Linked DNA regions of Homo sapiens: region 2 is linked to region 1. The links are contacts of gene promoters, found by promoter capture Hi-C in blood cells and fetal thymus (Javierre and others, 2016). All regions are on one chromosome and are shown on one strand. The core of a region is centred on a gene start or on the middle of the fragment in contact, and the rest is flanking DNA. Distances in the headings are between cores, read along the strand shown. Region 1 holds the start of NPPC (natriuretic peptide C). Region 2 overlaps DIS3L2 (DIS3 like 3'-5' exoribonuclease 2).

Region 1 (3,202 bases), core at 703-3,202:
ACAGGCAGTGGCAGCTGCTGAGCTGGAGGCAAGAAAGCGAGAAAGCCAGGTAAGCCTGATCCTAACGCACATGACTGTCAATGTCAGAGGCTGGGATGTTATTCAGTGGGCACGGGCAGGCGGCAGGAATAGAGAGGAGGGAAAGAGGAGAGGTGAGGCTCTCTGCAGCAGTAAATTACCACCACGCGGCACCCGGCAGGGGGTGGCGGTAGGGCAGAGGTTTCCAGCCCTAGTGCGGGGTGAGACCCCACACCAGAAACGGAGCCCAGAGCACCGGTTGGGTCGGGACAGGGTTGGTGAGGGACTCTGGGACGTGTTGAGTTCGAGGCTGGGGCAAATAATATTTACTTTAGTGTCTTTCCTATTCCCTGAAATAGTGCCACAAGCACTGAGATTCACCCCCGAAGCCACCAGGCTGCAGCTGCCTCAGGACCCTGGACAGACCAGTTTGCCCACTGCCTGGGTTTAGAGAAGGGACAGGAATCGGAGTGTCCCAGGCAGAAGGGCGCTCTGACAGTGCCAGCAGAGGGCTACTCTCACTACAGGGGGCATGGTGGCCAGCAGATGATCGATGTCCCCTGGACTTGTGGGTGTAACCTTCCTTCTCTGCTCCCACAAACCCATGATCTCCTCTCAATCCCCCCACCAGCTGGCCAATAGGGGCCAGTGCTGCTAGTTCAGCTACGGTTCAGGGGTGGGTGAGACACCACCAAGCCTGTTTCTGCTTCTCCAGAAGAAGCCAGGTGGGTTCAACCAGGCTGAGCCGTTTCTGACCTTGCCAAAGTTCCCCGATCACGTTATCCTTCGCTTTCTTTGTCTGTAAAGTGGGATAATAAAGGGGGCGGCTGGCAAACGCCTAGCACAACTTGAGCAAAGGCGGCTCGCGCGCCTCCGAAGGCCGGCTGGGCGGCGGGCGGTCCCGGGCCGGGCTGGGGCTGGGCGTCGGGTGGGCCGTACTCACCGCCGCCAGGGGGCGCCGCACTAACATCCCAGGCCGCTCATGGAGCCGATTCGGTCCAGCTTGAGGCCGAAGCAGCCCTTGGACAAGCCCTTCTTGTTGGCTCCTTTGTATTTGCGCGCGTTGGGGTGCTCTTGCAGAAGGCGAGCCCACGCTGCCCGCGACTTGGTGTCCACGCGCAGGTCCCGGAGCAGTCGCGACCGGTCGCCCTTGAGATTGGCGCCCCCGCCCCCGGGAGCCTTGTCGCCCTTCTTCTGACCGCCGCCCGCAGCCTGCGGCTCGGCCAGCTCCTCTGCCGGCGGGGTTCGCGGGACCTGTCCGAGGAAAGAGCGGGCAGGTGAAGGGACACGCGGCTGCAGCACGGGGGACTCTGATGCTCCAGCCCCACGCGCCCGCCGGCGCGGGGTGTCCCTCCCAAGCCCAGAGCCGCCCCCACCGATGCCGGCCAGCTTGGCCCCGCATCCACCTGCCACGCGGCCGCCTTCGCCGCTCCCTCCGGAAGCCCCCTGCCCTCCCTTTGCTGCTCGCCGGGCAGGCCACACTGGGGTAGGGGGCTGCGCATGGGCCGATGTTCTCCGGAGGCTGGAGAAGTGGACCCCCGAATCCGCGCTTCGAGGGCTCCCCGGCTCTCGCCCACGCGCATCTCGGAGGAGACAGCCGCCTGCCTTCCCTCTCTCCTGGGTCCTGCGCGCCGCATTCTCCAAGCCCCCAGCCTCCCACGCCTCTCCCAGGCTCGGCGTCCCCACGACAGCACCCACCTTCGGCGGCGCCCCGGGCTTGGCTTCGGAGGGCCGGAGGGAGAGCAGCGTGAGCAGCAGGGCGCAGGCCAGCAGCTGGGAGAGATGCATGGTGCCGCTGGGGTCGAGGGGCGCACACGGGCGGCAGCGAGGGCGCGCAGGTCGGCGGGCAGACCAGCAGGGGGATGCGGAGCAGGCTGGCTGGGCTGCAGGGCGAGCAGGGTCCCAGTGCTGCGCGGCGCCGGCTGGGTGCGCTCTGAGCCCGTGACTCTGCTCGCGCCTTTATAATCCAACCTGCCGCTGATGTCATCCTCCCGCCCACCGGGCCGCCCGGGCCAATGACACCACGCACGCGGCCGCGCCGAGGGCCGGGAGGGGGCCGCGGGGGCTCCCCTCCCTTATCCCACCCCGGAGGGATCCCGCGGCTCGGCGGGCTCGCTCCAGGCTGCACTTGGAGCTGCAGAGCTGAGCGCACAGGGGAACTCCATTTGCAGCGAGCGCGCGCCCTGGCCTGCCGAGCATCGGTGCGCCTGGTGCCCTGTGCACCCACTAGGTCCTCATCGCACTCACTCTACCTGGAAGGGATACGTAGCCCTCTTTGCAGGTGCAAAGACAGGCTCAGAGGAATGAAGTCACTTGCCCAAAGTCATACAGGCATAAAGTTGGCGCTGCCCGAAATCCACGCAGCCCTGCTTGTCGCCAAACTCTTCCCTGGGCACCTGACAGCCGCGGGATGGCATTGCAGCTCCGCCTTTCACCTGCCGGTCAGGGCGGGAGCGCAGACCACAGCGACGTCGTTAGGTTGGGGAGGCAGAGGATGGGGTTGGAGGACTGGGGTGGGAGGCGCAGGGAGAGCGGGGTTCGCCTGGGCCGCAGGGGGGAGCGCAAGTCTTCCACACTGGAGAGTGCAGGGGTGTCGCCAGCCTGAGTGTTTGAGCGCAAGGCGGGAACGAGGGGACTGCGAGCGCGGAACCAAGATATTCATGCTCATGCGTGTGCTCCGCGGCATCGTATGCTCGCCAGTTACTGCTCTAGGTTCACGTTCAGCCGGTTTCGGCCACACAGAACGTCCCGGGGTCTGACTCCGCTGGTGAACTCCCTCTGTGGGAACAATGCGCACCTGACCTTGCCTGCACCCACGCGAGGATCCGCTGCTGGGGGAAGCCCGCTCCAGTATCCTGTGCACTTTCACAGGCTGGGGAGAGAGCTTCCTAGCCAGCGGCCCAGTCCAGCCTCTGCCAGCCGTGACAGGTGGTCAACTTCCCGTTTTTGACTGTAGAGAGGTCCCCGTGGCTCTCGGGACATGGCCACATATCCCTACCACTCACGAACTTGCTCTCCTTGCACTGGGCTTCTCGGTCCCTTGGACACTAAGGAGTGTGGTGGGCATTTGGGCACTGCGGTGTGGGCCGCAGAGGCGGAGAGCCCAGATCCCCCGAATTGATTGAAGAGCAGGAATCTATGACTGGCTGCTGCTGAGCAGGACGCAGGCTGGAGAGAGAACAAA
Region 2 (3,220 bases), core at 609-3,108, 280 kb after region 1:
ATCTAAAACAGGGGTCAGCAAACTTCCTGTGAAGGGTCACATAGGAAATATTTCAGGCACAATTAAAACAGCTGTCTGTCACAACTGGTCAACACTGCCATTGTATAGAAAAAGTGTGGCTGTGTACAATAAAGCTTTATTTGTGCGTAGTGCAATTTGAATTTCCACAATCATTTTTGTGTCACAAAATAGTATTCTTCTTTTGATTTTTTATTTTTTAGTCATTTAAACATGCAAAAACTGTTCTCATCTTGCAGGTCACTCACAAACAAGTGGCAGGCCAGATTTGACCAGTGTAGTATGGTTTGCCAATTCCTGATCAGGAATAATGTTTGGATGGCTTATCTTTCCAGCAAGCAAGCCTTCCTGAGTACTGTTTGTCAGGTTCCATTTTAATTTAGACTTTTATGTTTCTGGTTTAAGAGCAGATTTTTAAAAAGTGTTAAAGGTAATAGAGAGTTGGTTTGAGTCCTTACAGGCTAGTCTAGGATTTTTCTTAGAAAGCAGTTGTGGGGGCTCCCAAAGAAGACATTTACAAACTAACAAAGTCTTACACGGTCACATATGGTGGGATCAACTTCAGGCTGGAAATGTCTAAATGGGAATTATCATTCATGCACTGGATCCATAGAAATGAAAGTCTCAAAGCACCCAGAGACGTTTAATTTTAAGAAATTAAAACTTCCTAGTCAACCCTCCAAGTAACCTAGTAAACGATGGCTTCCCACCTCCAACCAAGCTAATGGAGTTCTTTTTGATTTTGACTAGGGGAACATTTTTTTGGCTTTTTATGATGTCATTATGATAAAAGAAGAAGACCCAAACATTCCTACTACCATGTCTGACTTTTTAGTTTCAGTTATACCAGTATTTTTTATTGAGTACTCAGTGTATATAAAACATTTGGTTAGATTTTATGGGAGATATCAAAAGGAGAAAGAAGTGGACACTTCCTTCTTTACCTTGTGAGCCAAGTTCAAGATCCTCATCAATTACAGCCCATTGCTGTGGTGCCAGGTCTGATTTCACCTCCTGGGCACTTCCTATTACCATCAATCTGTTCATTCAACAAACATGTCTGAGGTGCAGCCTCTGTTCAAGGCTCTGGGAACACAGCCCTCGGAGCACGCATTCCAGGAGATCAGTGTTTCTCTTCTCCTCTGGCACTCTTGCTTACAACCTCTTTTATATAGTGGAACCAAAATTACTTCTGTATATCTTGAGGCTTCAACCTTCATGTTGCCTACACTGTGTGTGACTCTCCTCGAAATATTTAGAGGGAGAGTGGGTCTCCTGATTAATCACCCTTTCTGGGATCTGCACTCTAAATGCTCTCGTTCCCTCCACCTGAATGGCACCTACCTTTCCCTGCCCTATTTTCTTAGTGTCCAGTAGGGACACAGTTTTTACCAGATCCATAATCTTAAAGCCATTAACTATATTAAGCCAAATGCATCTTGTAACAAATGTTACAAGATAGCTAAATATATGTACAAACAATATATTTACAAACAAACAATAATACATATCTGATCAATTGTTTTTTGATTAAGGAAGATTCTCTATAGTTTTGATTTTTTCCATTTACAAAAGTAATATTCAATTGCAGTGAAAAATTTTAAAAATATGAAAAAGTACACATTAAAGGGAAAAAAATTAATCCATAAATCTAGCACCCGTCGATCAACCCTATGAATATTTAACATATATGTTTTACTCTTCTTGATTTGAAAGTCACATGAATTTTTTAAAAAAATAGTAAACATTAAAATTGACCTTCTTTTGCTGTATGTAAAATTCTGTGAATTTTAAGACATGCATAGATTTAGTTCCACTCCCCCTGCTGCCCCCGCACAAGCGTACCTTTCCCAGTTCTGGCAACCACTGATCTGCTCTCTGTCTTATCTCTGTTTTCATTCCGTTCCGTTCCTCTCCTCTTCTTCTCCTCTCCTCTTCTTATCCCCTCTCCTCCCCCCACCCTTTTTTGTTTTTGTGTTTGAGACCAAGTCTTGCTCTGTTGCCCAGGCTGGAATGCAGTGGCACAATCTTGGCTCGCTGCAACCGCCACCTCCCGGGTTCAAACAATTTTCCTGTCTCAGTCTCCTGAGTAGCTGGGACTACAGGCGTGTGCCACCATGCCCGGCTAATTTTTGTATTTTTAGTAGAAACGGGGTTTCACCATGTTGGCCAGTCTGGTTTTGAACTCCCGACCTCAGGTGATCTGCCCACCTTGGCCTCCCAAAGTGCTTTGTTTTCTTTTTGAGAGTGGCTCTTTTCACTTAGTTCAATACCTTTGAGATTCATCCAGGCTGTTGCATTTATGAATAATTTGTTAATTTTTGTTGCTAAATACTGTTCCATTTTGGGGGTATACCACAGTCTGGTTATCCATTTACCATTTAAGATTACTTTTTGGGTTGGGCATCGTAGCTCACACCTGTAATCCCAGCACTTTGGGAGGCCAAGTTGAGAGGATCCCTTGAAGCCAGGAGTTTGAGATCAGCCTGGGGAACAGAGTGAGATCCTGTTTCTACAAAAAGTTTTAAAACTACTCCAGTGTGGTGGCATGCACCTATACTGTCAGCTGCTTGGGAGTCTGAGGTGGGAGGATTATTTGAGCTCAAGAGGTTGAGGCTGCAGTGAGCCATACAAAAAAAAAGGTTATTATTATTTTTTAAACATTTGACATTTCTGAAATTCTGAAGTATCTTAAAATTAATGTATATATTTAATGTGGTGGGGTTTTTATTTCTCCAAAAGCTATTACAGAATTGATGGCGCATCTTATAATTAATACTCTCTTAGGATGGAAGTATTGTGGTTAGGATTAGAGAGGGCTGTTGGGAGTTACTAGGAGTAGGGTAAGTGGACAGTTAAGAGTCGGATAGAGAAAGGTCCCAAGAGCTTGTGGCAGGCCAGCATTAGAGCAGCTTGGCAGCCTCTGAAGACAGGGTCTCGCTCTATTGTCCAGGCTGGAGTGCAGTGGCCCAATTATAGCTCACTGCTGCCAAGGAGGTTTTGAACAGAGGAGCAACACCAGGGAAGAAGTCTTTAAGAACAAAGCCTGTCTTACCATGGTTAGTACAAGTATGGGCAACATCATCAGTGTTGATGAATGAGGAAAAGACAGAGAAATGGTGGCAGTGCACTGCTAGTACTGGATGGAGTGGAGGAAGAACCTAGGAAGCAGTGAGCACCGACTAGAGTGTGGCATGGGGGC

Evidence for each region. The method cuts DNA at HindIII sites, captures the fragments that hold promoters and counts their contacts. A CHiCAGO score of 5 or more calls a contact.
Region 2: a contact is called between a fragment that was not itself captured here and the fragment with the promoter of NPPC in region 1, in 6 of 17 cell types (M1 macrophages, erythroblasts, naive CD8 T cells and 3 more). The highest score is 7.1, in M1 macrophages.

Annotation. Positions count from the first base shown.
Region 1 is chr2:231,924,444-231,927,645 of GRCh38, forward strand. NPPC (natriuretic peptide C) reads right to left here and starts at 1,953. Exons shown (of 3, transcript NM_024409.4): 1 at 1,717-1,953; 2 at 962-1,272. The coding sequence starts at 1,806. The coding sequence ends at 982. RefSeq lists silencers at 847-936, 1,017-1,066, 2,022-2,241 and an enhancer at 2,643-3,202. The HindIII fragment of the contact is 15,333 bases long and covers 1-3,202 here.
Region 2 is chr2:232,206,331-232,209,550 of GRCh38, forward strand. All of the region lies in intron 9 of DIS3L2 (DIS3 like 3'-5' exoribonuclease 2), which reads left to right. Among named protein-coding and RNA genes, the nearest start is that of MIR562, 35 kb to the left of the region's middle. The HindIII fragment of the contact is 3,452 bases long and covers 133-3,220 here.